Regions from separate parts of the Homo sapiens genome. Here region 1 is linked to region 2. The links are contacts of gene promoters, found by promoter capture Hi-C in human tissues and cell types (Jung and others, 2019). All regions are on one chromosome and are shown on one strand. The core of a region is centred on a gene start or on the middle of the fragment in contact, and the rest is flanking DNA. Distances in the headings are between cores, read along the strand shown.

What was found. The method cuts DNA at HindIII sites, captures the fragments that hold promoters and counts their contacts. A contact is called where the count stands out against the background at its distance.
Region 1: a fragment that was not itself captured here is called in contact with the fragment with the promoter of SAMD4A in region 2 in 8 of the 25 tissues and cell types used here (adrenal gland, liver, lymphoblastoid cells and 5 more).

What each region holds. Positions count from the first base shown.
Region 1 is chr14:54,799,098-54,805,593 of GRCh38, reverse strand. No RefSeq gene overlaps it. Among named protein-coding and RNA genes, the nearest start is that of MIR4308, 76 kb to the left of the region's middle. RefSeq lists an enhancer at 73-874. The HindIII fragment of the contact is 8,937 bases long and covers 1-6,496 here.
Region 2 is chr14:54,562,210-54,568,649 of GRCh38, reverse strand. It overlaps SAMD4A (sterile alpha motif domain containing 4A), which reads right to left and starts at 1,522. Exons shown (of 13, transcript NM_015589.6): 1 at 1,312-1,522; 2 at 538-1,154. The coding sequence starts at 733. RefSeq lists silencers at 491-550, 791-850, 1,691-1,880, 2,001-2,050, 2,611-2,740 and 2 more. The HindIII fragment of the contact is 16,931 bases long and covers 1-6,440 here.

The DNA.
Region 1 (6,496 bases), core at 1,593-4,092, 240 kb before region 2:
TTTGTGGGTGCTTCCAGGCTGGGGAGAGTGCTGGGAATGGCCTGAGTGAAGACTTTGTAGCTAATAACTCCTGTCATCGGCTGACGAGGTAGGGAATGGACAGTGCTTGAGGATTGTAATCACCATGACAATACTCGCGGCTAACACTCAAGAGCACAGCCTATGTATCAGGCTCTGTTCCAGGTGCTGTGCATACATCAACTCACTTAACCCTCCACAACGCGCCACTGGGTAGCACCCCTATTGCACAGATGGAGAAATGGAGGCACGGAGAGGCAAAGTAATGCACCCAAGGACACATAGCTGAGCTGGTAAGTGGCAGAGCTGGGAAGTGAGTGGAGGAAAGGCAGGCTTGGGCTTCAGAGCCCCAGGGATTTGAAGCCGGAGCATTCAGGCTTGCAACACATTTTCAAGATACCCAGATGGGAGAGCTGCCTGTTTTAAACGTGAAGGAAGACAGATTTCAAAACGAGCCCTTGCTTCCAGTTTTGAGGTTCTTCCCCAGCCTCCTGGGCAAGGAATGCTCCGTTCAGTATAAATATTAAAAACGAAGGCTGCAGGAGTGGCAAAGCAGGATGTGGGGGAGGGTCTTTTCTGTTGAGGAGCCAGGGCCCAACACCTTTCCATACAGGTGCAGTGAGACCGCGGAGGCAGGGCCAGGAGAGGGGCGTCCTCAGCCCATTCGGCTACGCTGGCAGCAGGGAGGGTGGAGCAGAAGCTGCCTCACTCCTGGCACATCGCGGGCGGGAGGCCGCTGCAGGCACTTCTGCTACTCTATCATCTATTTCTTTTTATTTTTTTGAGTCAGTCCCTCAGACAGTCCGGTTTGTTAGCTTCCTGCGGGCTCTCCACTGAACCCAGCCTTTGAATGGGAGACTGAGTCAGAGCAGCCTCAAACATCCCCTGAAGGCGAGAGCCGCTGTGCGTGAAAGCACCTTTCAGAGCATTACATTTCCCTGCTTCTGAGTCTTTGAACCAGGAGTGATCCACAGGTTGCAGCCCAGCTGGAGGTGGATGATGAAAGAAATTGGCCCGCTCAGAGTCGGGTGGGAGCTAACAGAGAAGGAGAGTTTGATGAATGCGCGGCTGGGCCTGGCCCTGGGACCCTAGTGATCCTGCAGCACACTGGGAGCGTAACAGGAGGTCACCCAGCCACCCAGGACATGACCTCGTCTGATGACGCCACTTTAAGCTCCTCCAGACTTTGAGGTCCTGAAGAGAAGCAGCAAACCCAGGTAAAGTGACCAGGGTTTGTCTTTGTAACAGGCTCACATTCCTCAAAAGTGGGGAGGGACATTGGCCGGATGGGGACCCCAAGACCTTAGCCGTCTTGAACATTCGTTTGTGCTCTGCTGGGAGGCAGCATGCGGTGACCGGGTGGGAGATATTAGTGCTGTGGTCCAGCCCTGTCTGTGAGTCCTTCATGGCAGGGTAGGATTGTGCTTCCCAGCTCCACTGAAGTTAGATGTGGCCATGTGACTGGCTTCGGCTGACGAAGTGTGAGCGGAAGTGACACATTTCACTTCTAGTGGAAGGCATGTCCTTTTTTTCCCTCTGCTGTGGCAAATATCAGTACTCCAGTAGGTGGCAACTGTGCCAGAAGCTGGATTCCAGAGGAAGCCATATAGAGCAGATGTCCCTGATGACCTGTGATGGACATGCAGGCCAGTCTTTGTGGTTTTAAGGCATTGAGGTTTTGGGGAGTATCTGTTAATGGAGTGTAACCTAATCTGCATTAACAGACAACCCGAAACTATACTGGCAGATACCTGGATAATCAGGCTGATGAATTCTGGTTAATAGATCACTCAGCTGTTAATGCTATGCAACTGTATGGTAGATGCACCTGTGCACGGCAGACACACCTGACAGCGATAACTTAAGCATTTTCTGAGAATCACCCTGTATGGCAGACGCACCTGAATGTGTGTTTAGAGTTCCAGCGTGGCCAACCTGGGGACTCATTCCTTATCTGTGAGGCATATCTGAGCCCCCATCCTGCCCTGTCCCATAAAATGTGGGTCATACAGAGTATTGAGGCCCTTTGTTTTGGGTTAAACGAAGGTTGCCAGGTGATGGTTGCTAGGGGGAGGGTGTTAAGTGAGAACGCTGTATAAACTGCATGCTCTTATAAGTGGTGGTTCTCCTGTCCAGTCCCCACCACTGGGCTGCTCCGTAAGTTCCCCTCAATAAGCCCCGTGTCTCGTTTGCTGGCTCTGGGTCTCTTCTTTAGCCTCTCGAGCCTGGTGCCATCCCGATTGGAGGTGATAGGTGTCTGGCATGACAGTATCCCAGGGAACAATTCATCAACCTAATTAAAGTACACATAGCTTACAAAATTGAGTCTTTGCGGTAGGCATTGCAAGCACCATTGAAGCCAATGGGGAAGAAATTTGAGAAGTGACTGGGAGTGTGCTGAAACCCCACTGCTAATGCTGCCTGGCTTAGATGATTCCCATAGGTAGGGCACCCAAGGAACAGGGTGGATCAGGTGCTTGCTCTTAGTTCTGTAATGAGTCCGTGGAAGCAGCTGCCTTTTACCCTCATCTACCAAGGCTGCAGATGCACTTAACCTCATAGACCAGTAAGCTAGGAGAAGCAGTTTCATTTGATGTGCAGTTTTCCCATTTGGCTGCCCATTAGAATCACCTGGGAGCTTAATAACCTCACGCCCAGGCCATGCCCTAGAACAACTAAGTCAGAGTCTCTCAGGATGGACTCCAGGCATCAGTAGTTGGTAAAGCTCCCCAGGTGACTCCCATATGGAGTCAGATTGAGAACCACAGCCATGTCGGCTCTTCTCTTTCAATTAGGGGCTATATTTAAACAAATAGGATGGTCATTTTGCAGAATTCTGCTGCCTACCAGTAACCTCGTGTCTCAGGCTGCAACAGATGTTGGAAAGGGAAGGCCTGGAGGTTCATCACAGTCTCCTTACTGTGTGTGCTCATATGGGGTCTCCAGAGCCTAAGACAACCAGCCATTGCCATCTCCTAGCAATATTTAGGGTAGACAGACCTGGATTTGAGTCTTATCGTGGAGCCTCATTCCATAACAATTCTGTGATGTTGGACAAGTTGCTTAACATCTCTGAGTCTCAGTTTTTCCATCTGCAAAGTGGGGGATAATCTAACAACAAATGTATCAGCTTAGCAAAACAGTATTTTGTCTGGATGAGGAGGTGGGTTATGTAACATAACAAATTTCATGTCCCTACCCCTAGCCCAATTCTTCCCCAGCACCTCAGCTGGCCAAGCAAGACGCTTTGGGAGGCATCCTGGACTCATTAGTTTCTCCTCTACAGCCCATGTCTGATCCATCATCAAGCACAATGAGGCTACGTCTTTTTTTTCTCTCGTTGATATCTGGCTTTCTTATTTTTAAAATGTTTTATTTCCTGGGTTTTTGGGGAACAGATGGTGTTTGGTTACATGAGTAAGTTCTTTAGTGGTGATTTGTGAGATTTTGGTGCACCCATCATCCGAGCAGTGCACACTGAATTTAACTTGCAGTCTTTTATCCCTCACCTCCCTCCCACCCTTTCCCCTGAGTCCCCAAAGTCCGTTGTATTTTTTAACTTTTAAGTTTAGGGGTACATGGTGCAGGTTTGTTACATAGGTAAATGTGTGTCATGGGGGTTTGTTGAACAGATTATTTCATTATCAAGTTATTAAGCCAAGTACCCATTAGTTATTTTTCCCGATCCTCTCCCTCCTCCTACCCTCCACCCTCCGATAGGCCCCAGTGTGTGTTGTTCCCTTCTATGTGTCCATGTGTTCTCATGATTTAGCTTCCACTTATAAGTGAGAACATGTGGTATTTGGTTTTCTGTTCCTGTGTTAGTTTGCTAAGGTTAATATCCTCCAGCTCCATGTTCCTGCAAAAGACATGATCTTGTTCTTTTTTATGGCTGCATAGTATTCCATGGTGTATATGTACTATTTTTTCTTTTTCCAGTCTATCATTAATGGGCATTTAGGTTGATTCCATGTCTTTACTATTGTGAATAGTGTTGCAATGAACTTTCACGTGAATGTGTCTTTATGATAGAACAATTTATATTTCTTTGAGGATATACCCAGTAATGGGATTGCTGGGTTGAATGGTATTTCTTCTTTAGGTCTTTGAGGAATTGCCACACTGTGTTCCACAATGGTTGAACTAATTTACACTCCATTAACAGTGTATAAGCACTCCTTTTTCTCCACAACCTCACCAGCATTTGTTTTTTTTTGACTTTTTGATAATAACCATTCTGACTGGTGTGAGACGGTATCTCATTGTGGTTTTGATTGGCATTTCTGTAATGATCCGTGATGTTGAGCTTTTTTTCATATGTTTGTTGGTCACATAGTATGTCTGCTTTTGAGAAGTGTCTGTTCATGTCCTTTGCCCACTTTTTAATGTTTTTTTTTTCTTGTAAATTTGTTTAAGTTCCTTACAGATGCTGGATGTTAGACCTTTGTCAGATGCAGAATTTGCAGAAATTTTCTCCCATTCTGTAGGTTGTCTGTTTACTCTGATAGTTTCTTTTGCTGTGCAGAAGTTCTTTAATTAGATCCCATTTGGCAATTTTTGCTTTTGTTGCAGTTGCTTTTGGCATCTTCACCATGAAATCTTTGCCTGTGCCTATGTCCTGAATGGCATTGCCTATGTTGTCTTCCAGGGTTTTTATAGTTTTGGGTTTTATATTTAAGTCTTTTATCCATCCAGAGTTAATTTTATATGTGGTATAAGGAAAGCGTCCAGTTTCAATCTGCATATGGCTAGCCAGTTATCCTAGCACCATTTATTGAATAGGGAATCCTTTCTCCATTGCTTGTTGTAGGTGTGTGGTCTTATTTCTGGGTTCTCTGTTCTGTTCCATTGGTCTATGTGTCAGTTCTTGTACCAGTACCATGCTGTTTTGGTTACTGTATCCCTGTAGTATAGTTTGAAGTTGGGTAATGTGATGTCTTCAGCTTTGTTCTTTTGCTTAGGATTGTCTTGGCTATTTTGGTTCCATATGTTTTAAAATAGTTTTCTATAGTTCTGTGAAGAACGTCAATGGTAGTTTAATGGGAATAACATTGAATCTATAAATTGCTTTGGGCAGTATGGCCATTTTACCAGTATTGATTCTTCCTATCTATGAGTATGGAATGCTTTTGTTTGTGTCATCTCTGATTTCTTTGAGCAGTGGTTTATAGTTCTCCTTGTAGAGATCTTTCACCGCCCTAGTTATCTGTATTCCTAGGTGTTCTTTTTCTGGCAGTTGTGAATGGGAGTTCATCTGTGATTTGGCTCTCATCTTGACTGTTGTTGGTACATAGGAATGCTAGTGGTTTTTGCACATTGACTTTTATATCCCAAGACTTTGCTAAAGTTGCTTATCAGCTTAAGAAGCTTTTGGGCTGAGACAATGAGGTTTTGTAGATACAGGATCATATCATCTACAAACAGGGATAGTTTGATTTCCTCTCTTCCTATTTAAATGCCCTTTATTTGTTTCTCTTTCCTGATTGTCCTGGCCAGAACCTCCAATACTATGTTGAATAGGAGAGGCTACATCTTATGAATCTCACAGATCTGTCCAGTTCTCTCTGTCCCTGCTGCCATACCCTTGAGCTTGTGAACTGTCTGGATCATCTGTCCCCTGGGGCATCCTCACTCCTGCACTTGCGCTCTCCTCTAATCCATTTCCCAAAATGCAGTCGGAGTGACTTTTCCAAAATATAAATTTCCCTGTTAGACATTATCCCAAAATTTAAAATTAATAATTAAAATAGTGGGAGTGCTAGTACATGAATAGACAAATGTATTGATGAAAAGAAAAATAGGAAGTGCAGAGAGAGATCTAAATACATAGAGGAAGTTGCTTTGTTAAAGGGGTGGCATATCAGATCAGTGGAGGAAAAATATATTAATAGTGTAGACACAACTGGGTACCCACCTTTGCATAGAAATACAATTGGTTCCAAACCTCGTATTTTATACTAAAAATGGTTCAAATATATATAAATATAAAATGAATCCATGAAAGTACTAGTGGAAAATATAGCTATCTCAAAGTGGAAAAGGCCTTTTAAAATATGATTTGAAATCCAGAAGCCATAAAAGATGAAGAAATTCAACCACATAAAAATAAAAATAAGTTCTTTATGACAAAAGACCAACTGGGAAAAATATTTGTAACTTATATCACAGACCAAAGGCCAATTTCTACAATATACAAAGAGCGGCTACAAAAATAAGAAAAGGACCCACAACTCAATGATAAAATGGGCAAATATATGAACACCCAGTTCAAAGGAAAATATAAAAGACTATTAAGCATATAAAAATGCTCAAACTCAGTCTCACTCGAGAAATAAATAAAAAGGGTGCTGATAGCATTTTTTTCACATATTAGATAGGAGAATATACAAAAGTTTGGTTTATGAATTGCTGAGAGTATAGGAAATAAAGCACTCTCATCCATTGCTGCTGGAAGTATAAATCTATAGAAGATGACTTG
Region 2 (6,440 bases), core at 273-2,772:
ATTATTCTGAAGACGAAGCTCTAAAACCAGAATATCTGTGGGGAAAAATGAATAATAAAATTGGATTTTCATGTACTCCTCACACAGCCTTATCCAAGCTTGGCTTCTGAAGGGCAGTCCCGGGCATCTATCATGTGTTGCTGAAATCCAGCGAGCCACGTTGCCCAAAAGAAGGAGGAGGAAGGAAAAAACACACACACCCAGAAAATCCAGACTCTACGTGACCTGACTTACTTATTTCCCAGGAAACTGCATGAGAGAAAAATCAATCATTCATGCTACCGTAGCTACCACACGGAAAGGGCTGACGGAGTTCACAGTGGGCAAAATCCCAAAGCGGCCGGCGGAGGTAAGTAGGTGGGGGGCGGTAGTGGGGGGACACCCGGAGGGGGTGGATTCCGAGGGCCTCGGGGCCACGCCGTCCAGGTCCCGGCGCGGCTGGCAGGGACTGGCCTCGGCCTGGCCCGAGGCAGAGAAGCGGAGGGAGGAGCGGGGGTTGGGCAGGCGGGACGGCGGCGGCGGCCGCCGCACACTTACCGGGGCTGTTGGCCTCGCGTTCGAGGACGTGCAGCTCGGCGCAGTCGGCCAGCGAGTGCTCCAGGCAGAGCTGGAGGAAGCGGGCCTGGGTCTGGCTCACGCGCTTGAGCAGCGACAGCAGCGCAACAGTCTGCTCGCACTCGTTCCAGCCCTTAAACCAGCCCGCCAGCACCCCGACCTGGTCGCGAAACATCATGGTTAGGGGGCCGCCCTCGGTCTACAGAGCCCCCTGGGCGCCCCAGCCCGCCCCGCCCGCCCCAAAGTTTGGCGGAGCCGCAGCCCCGCGGCCGGAGACGCGTTCCTGTTCCAAGGTGGCTCTGGTGCCCGGACGCTGCAGGTACTGCCTGGGCTCCTGCCTCTCTTGTCTGGTTTCAGTTACGTTCCGGTGGTTCTGGCTGATTTCCCCAGAGACGATGACAGACAGTAGCACGGAAATGTTTCTTTAAAAAAAAAAACGACTTTTTAAAAATCCCCCACAAGGCACACAACTGAATGAAGAATGCTTTCTCCCCCCTTCTTGCAGCTTTGGGATGGTGATTTCCGGCGTCCTGGGGTCTCCTCCCCGCTGGGCGGCAACTCGGACCCTTCACGCCCGCATTCCCGAGCGGCGATCACCACTGGAAGGAGAGAAAGAGCTGCAGTGAGACCTCGGCTAGCGGAGGAGCGCGCCCTGGGGGGACGAGGGCATCAGAGGGTGCTGGGGCCAGGGGAGGGGGCGTCCCGCGGAAGGTTGGGTTCGCCGAAATCCAGCCGCCCCCTCCGCCCCCTCCGCACCCGATGTGGGAGATGGGCTATTCCCCACCGGGTAACAGCGAGAAGCCTGCTTCCCAGGTGCGGGAGGAGACCCCGCGGCTTCCTGTTGCTGCCGCTGCCAACGGCTGGTGCTCCCCTCACGGCCCGCCTGGGGTGGCCTCGGGCGCCGTGCTTAAGAACGCCAGCACCAGCAACAGATCTTCCCCGCGCAGAAAACTTGCAATGCGGCTGCGAAGGGGCGCGGGGGTGGGGGTGGGAGCTAATGCAAAGCAGAGGCGGAGGCAGCGGCAGCCCGAGTTCCTTCCTCCTCCTCTTACTCCTCCTCCTCCTCCCAGAGAAGCAGCCGAGCGGCTGCAGCTCCATCTACAGCAACAGCCAGCATCTCCACCGCCAGGCGCCCCTCTGGATTTAGGCCGTGAGCAGCCGCGGCAGCAGCTCGAGACAAAAATAAACTCTCTCCACCCAAAGCTCCGCGCCCAGCGGGCGGCGGCGCAACCCAGAGCCCCGGCTCCCCCGCGCCGCGCCGCACCAGCCCACCCGGGAGGTCTCCCTGGGCCTGCTCCGGCCGGAGCGGTCACTGTGCGCGCGCGTGTGCGTGTGTGTGTGCGCGCGTGTGTGGCAGGCATCCTGCCGCCGCCGCCTACGGGCTGGTCTGTCCGGCCCGGAGCCTCGCCCGCGCGTCGCAGGCCGAGGGCGGCACAGCGCTGGGCACACGCCCCGCGAGGGGACGGCCGGGGTCCGCAGCGCTGCTCCCTTCGGCCAGCGGGGCGGCCCCGCGGGGAATGCGGATCGGCGCCGCAGGCACACGCCCCCCAACGACAGCAAAGAAAGTTCGGCTGCGGGGGTTCCCCCAGTCCCATCCCGGTTCTCGTGGCCGCCGCCGGCGGGGAGGAGAACCCAGCGACTCAGCCTTCAAGGAGCCGCTAGCTTCCAACAACACGCTGCTTCCGGCTCCCAGAACTTCTCGGGCGGAGGGGGAAGCCCCCGGGGAGGGGACCCCCAGTGACCCGCGGGTCCCCCGCCGAGGGCCGTAGGGAGGGAGCGCTCACCTCGGCGCGGCTCATCCCGGCGGCTCGGGGGCCCTTGCGCGGGTCCGGGGCCGCGGCGGCTCTCAGCGGGGTTGGGGGCGCCCGGAGCGCCGGCCGCGGGCCATGCCGTCGGGGCGGGCGGCGCGGGGAGAGTGCGGTGCTTCGAGTCGGGGCCGCTGCAGCCGCCGCTGCTGCTGCCTCCAGTGTCGGCTCGCGGAGGACTGAGCCGCCCGAGCCGGAGCTCCCCACATGCTACTGATTAACATACACCATTACATCATGGGCTTGGCAGGGAGCGCCCGAGCGGGGGGAGAGGAACCCGGGCGGCGGCGACGGCACGCGGGGGGAGCCGGGGGGAGGAACCCCGGACCCGGCGCAGGGCGGGGGGACGGATTCCTAAGTGGGGACCAGAAAAAGGGGAGGGGAGCGGAGTGGGAGGAGCTGGTGGCGCAGAGGGGTCGGGTAGAAGGAACCTCCGAGAGGAACGAAGAAGTTCGGGGAAGAGGACGGGTCCGGGTGAATTTCTTCCTGCGGCCGCCTGCGTGTTCTGGAGGGGTCGGGACACTCAAGCCACTGGAGCCCCGGCAGAAAGGGACCCGAGGGCGCTCGGGCGGGGGCGGTGCTGCCACCCGCTGCTTGTCCTTGGGAATGTGGTTCGTCCGCTCGGCTGACCCTCGGCCCTTCTGGGGCCCCGGGGTGGCCGAGGTGTTTGGCCCCCGGGCGGTGAGACCCGAGGTCACTGCCGCACTTGCTGGGATGGGTTCCGGGGGTCGTGGAGGCGAAGGGTTCACGAGGCTGAGGGGCAGTGCGCAGGGTTGGACCTGCCCAGGCGCTAGGTTCCGTGCCGCCCTAGTCCAAGGGCCTGGCCCGGGTCGGGTGCCGGATGCCCTTTGCTCTGGCGCAGGCTCCTAGAGGCCGGCCCGGCGCCTGGCTGAGTCCCACTCTTCCCCGGGGAGGTGGCCGAACTCCTGAGACCGGTCGGGGGAGCTGTGCCTGGCGCGCGGGCTGCGGCTTCTGGCCTGGAGCGGAGGCGAGCGCCGCCCTGGGCGACAAAGAGGCGGGGCGAGGCCACCTGTCAGCGCTTAGGCGTCGCCAGGCCTCGCAACCTTCACCTGGATCTGGAGAGTGCGCAGGGCCGCGGCCACACCGGGGCTTCAGGTCCTTGCCGCGCGAGAGGCGAGGAGGGCGCAGCGCAGAGGCTGAGTGGCGCAGGGTGGGCTGCGAAAGTGCCTCTGCTAGTCTTGAAAGTAAAGGTTTGGTTAAAAATACCCTAAACCCTAAAAACCTCTGTACCTCCTGATATGGGTTGAATATTCGCAAGAAGGACTGGATGACTAAATCTGGGCTATCTCCGTGATTTCAGAGGAAACACTGCTCCCTCCAGCAACTTGAGGCTTTGTTTATACGGGAGTAATTCTGAGAAGGCAGTGAAACGCGTGTTTCAGACCCAGCCTTTCCTACTCCTGCTAATCCACTGTTTTGAAGAGAAAGTATCTGAGATATTATTCCACTAATTAACACTTTTGTTTTCCAACTCCGGCATATGTCCCTGGAATTTAAATGCTTTCTTCCCTTCCTCCTCAAATTTAGTTTCTGCAGCGTATAGTTCGTTTCAGACACGTGATAGCACCTAACCATCTGTTAGGGTTTTTGAAAGGTCTTGTCGAGGTCGAGCTGCAAAAATGTGGATTTTTTAAAAGTTAATTATTAACCAGACAGGTGAGGTATCCGCTTAATTTAATGAATATTTTGCCCTATTTAGAAAACAGGAAACCTGAAGTCAGTGTTTTATTTTTGTTTTGTTTTGTTACTGTAGAGGCAGAAAGGCTTGATAGATTTTCTCCAAGAGATTACTATGAATTAGCTAATTCTTAGTAATAACTTATATCAGGAAATAGGGAGGATTAGAGAGTATGGTCTACTTCGGTATATACCTTGCTATAAATTGTAGGCAAAGCAGATGTCGTTCTAGGGCTTTTGGAAGCTCCCAAGAGTGAATTTTTTTTAAAAGAAAGTGAAAAAACCAGAAATTTCATTAACATGTATTTTCACCTGCAGCTTACTAAAGGTATAGTAAAACTAAAAACAAAACAACAAAAAAAAAAAACAAAACTTAAGCTGGTGAATGAAAATACTGCCATCTACTGGAAAAGTGTAGTTCTTACACCAGCCTTTGACCTAGGAAAAGACATTGATTTATCTCATTTTTGAATTCTTACTGTTCAGGACACTCTAAGACATATAAAGTTGAGCATGACATGAGCTGTCAGTACTCTTGTATTTGTGTGTTAACAATTCCTTTCCTCTGGGCAAAGGAAAGGGAGTATAAATAAAACCCAGGGATGTGGCCTCACTCTTCCCCAGAGTGAAGTCATCACTCTAAAGGAAAAAAAAAATACATTCATTAAATATAAGGTATTGTATTAAGTGTGGATTTTTCCTATGTCAACCTGGACCCAGTATTATTGATAAATAAGAAGTGCCTAACACTTACTATATAGTCACATCACTTGAAAAATGAATGAAAATATCCTTTCATTAGAAGAGATATTACTATGTCTATGTTCACTGTATTCCTATTTATTCATTTGAAAAATACTTATTGTGTCACCTTGTGCCAGGCACTGGGTTAGGCAATAAGTACCCTGAGTATTCTGAGTACCAAGTACAGGCACTGAATACACGATGGGGTACTAACCAAGAGATACTTTATATGAATAAAACACAGATCAGATTATCATGAATTAACATTCCCAACATTATTTTGCTTTTCTCCTCCTTAGAATCTGGGAAGGGAAGAAATTGTTTTCTGAGTGAATAATACTTTTGATCAAATAATTAAAATGTTCAGATGTTCCAAAGATTACTAATTCTAGATAAATCATTGACATATTTATAAATCACTGTTTAAGAGGATGCCTGGGTATTATTTGCATAAATAAGAAATCCCAGAGATTTCATGTTTATTTTAAATTTATATTTCTTCTAGAATAATCTAAAACAAAAGAAATGCATTAGATATAAAAACAGAGCTGTAAGCTTTAATTATTTGCTTTATAAATGAGCAAAAGTATTAAAATCTCTACATAAAGGTAAATGACAATGGATAATTGCCATTCATTTAATCATTTGATAAATATATATTGAATACTTGTTCTGGGCCAAGTCCTCAAGATAAAATATTAAGACATTTGGTATTTTTTATCTAACACAAAAGCCCATATAGCAAACATATATATGATTATATTATATAGCAAGAAAATATATAAATAAAATTTCATATATTCATTACACATTTTAAATGCATATATATGCCATAGGAAAATGTGTGAAAAGATTTACACCAAAATGGTAACTAATGGTGATCTTCTCTGCATGATAGGATTTCTGAGTATTGTTGTCTTGTTTCTCCATATTTTCTAACTTTTCTACTGTGAGTAAGAAAACTAAAACCAAAACACTACGTGAGTTCAGGCCTACTGTCTAAAACTTAATTTTAAAAGAAACTAAAGAAACTCTACTATAAAATTTAGGTCTATAACTCCCAAGAATTGTTTGAGCCTGTATCACTTCCTACCTAGGTCTTATCCTAGACTCAGTAGTGGGTCTCCCTTCCTCACTTCTGATCTCTCCACTCTCTAGCTCAGACATTTTCTGTGGTTTCTGAATAGACACTGAATACATTCCAGACTATTTGGGCTGGCATACAAAGACTCCAGGATTCGGCCACTGTCTGCCCTTCTGCACGTCTCTTCTACATTTCATTCACTGATTCATTCACAGAAAGTATTTGTTGAGTATAAATCACTGTGCTAGGCAATTAGAAGAGACAAAGGTAGAAGAAGAACCATGCTCTCTTCAACCTCCAGTGTGTAGCATAAATTATGTTCTTGGCACGTGCGTGCACACACCCACACTTCACAAAAACGTACAATGTGAAGTGGGTCTGAGGGGAGGCAACACAGTGTTGAGAGAGATAAGAAGAGGTAGCAATTCTGCTAGAAAATTAAGGAAGACACTGTGGCTCTGTTGCCTTTTGAGCTGGTGTTCATTGGATAAATAGTTTCAACACAGATAGGCAAAATTTTAAACATTTAGGACACCCTATGGGGACCAGGATAT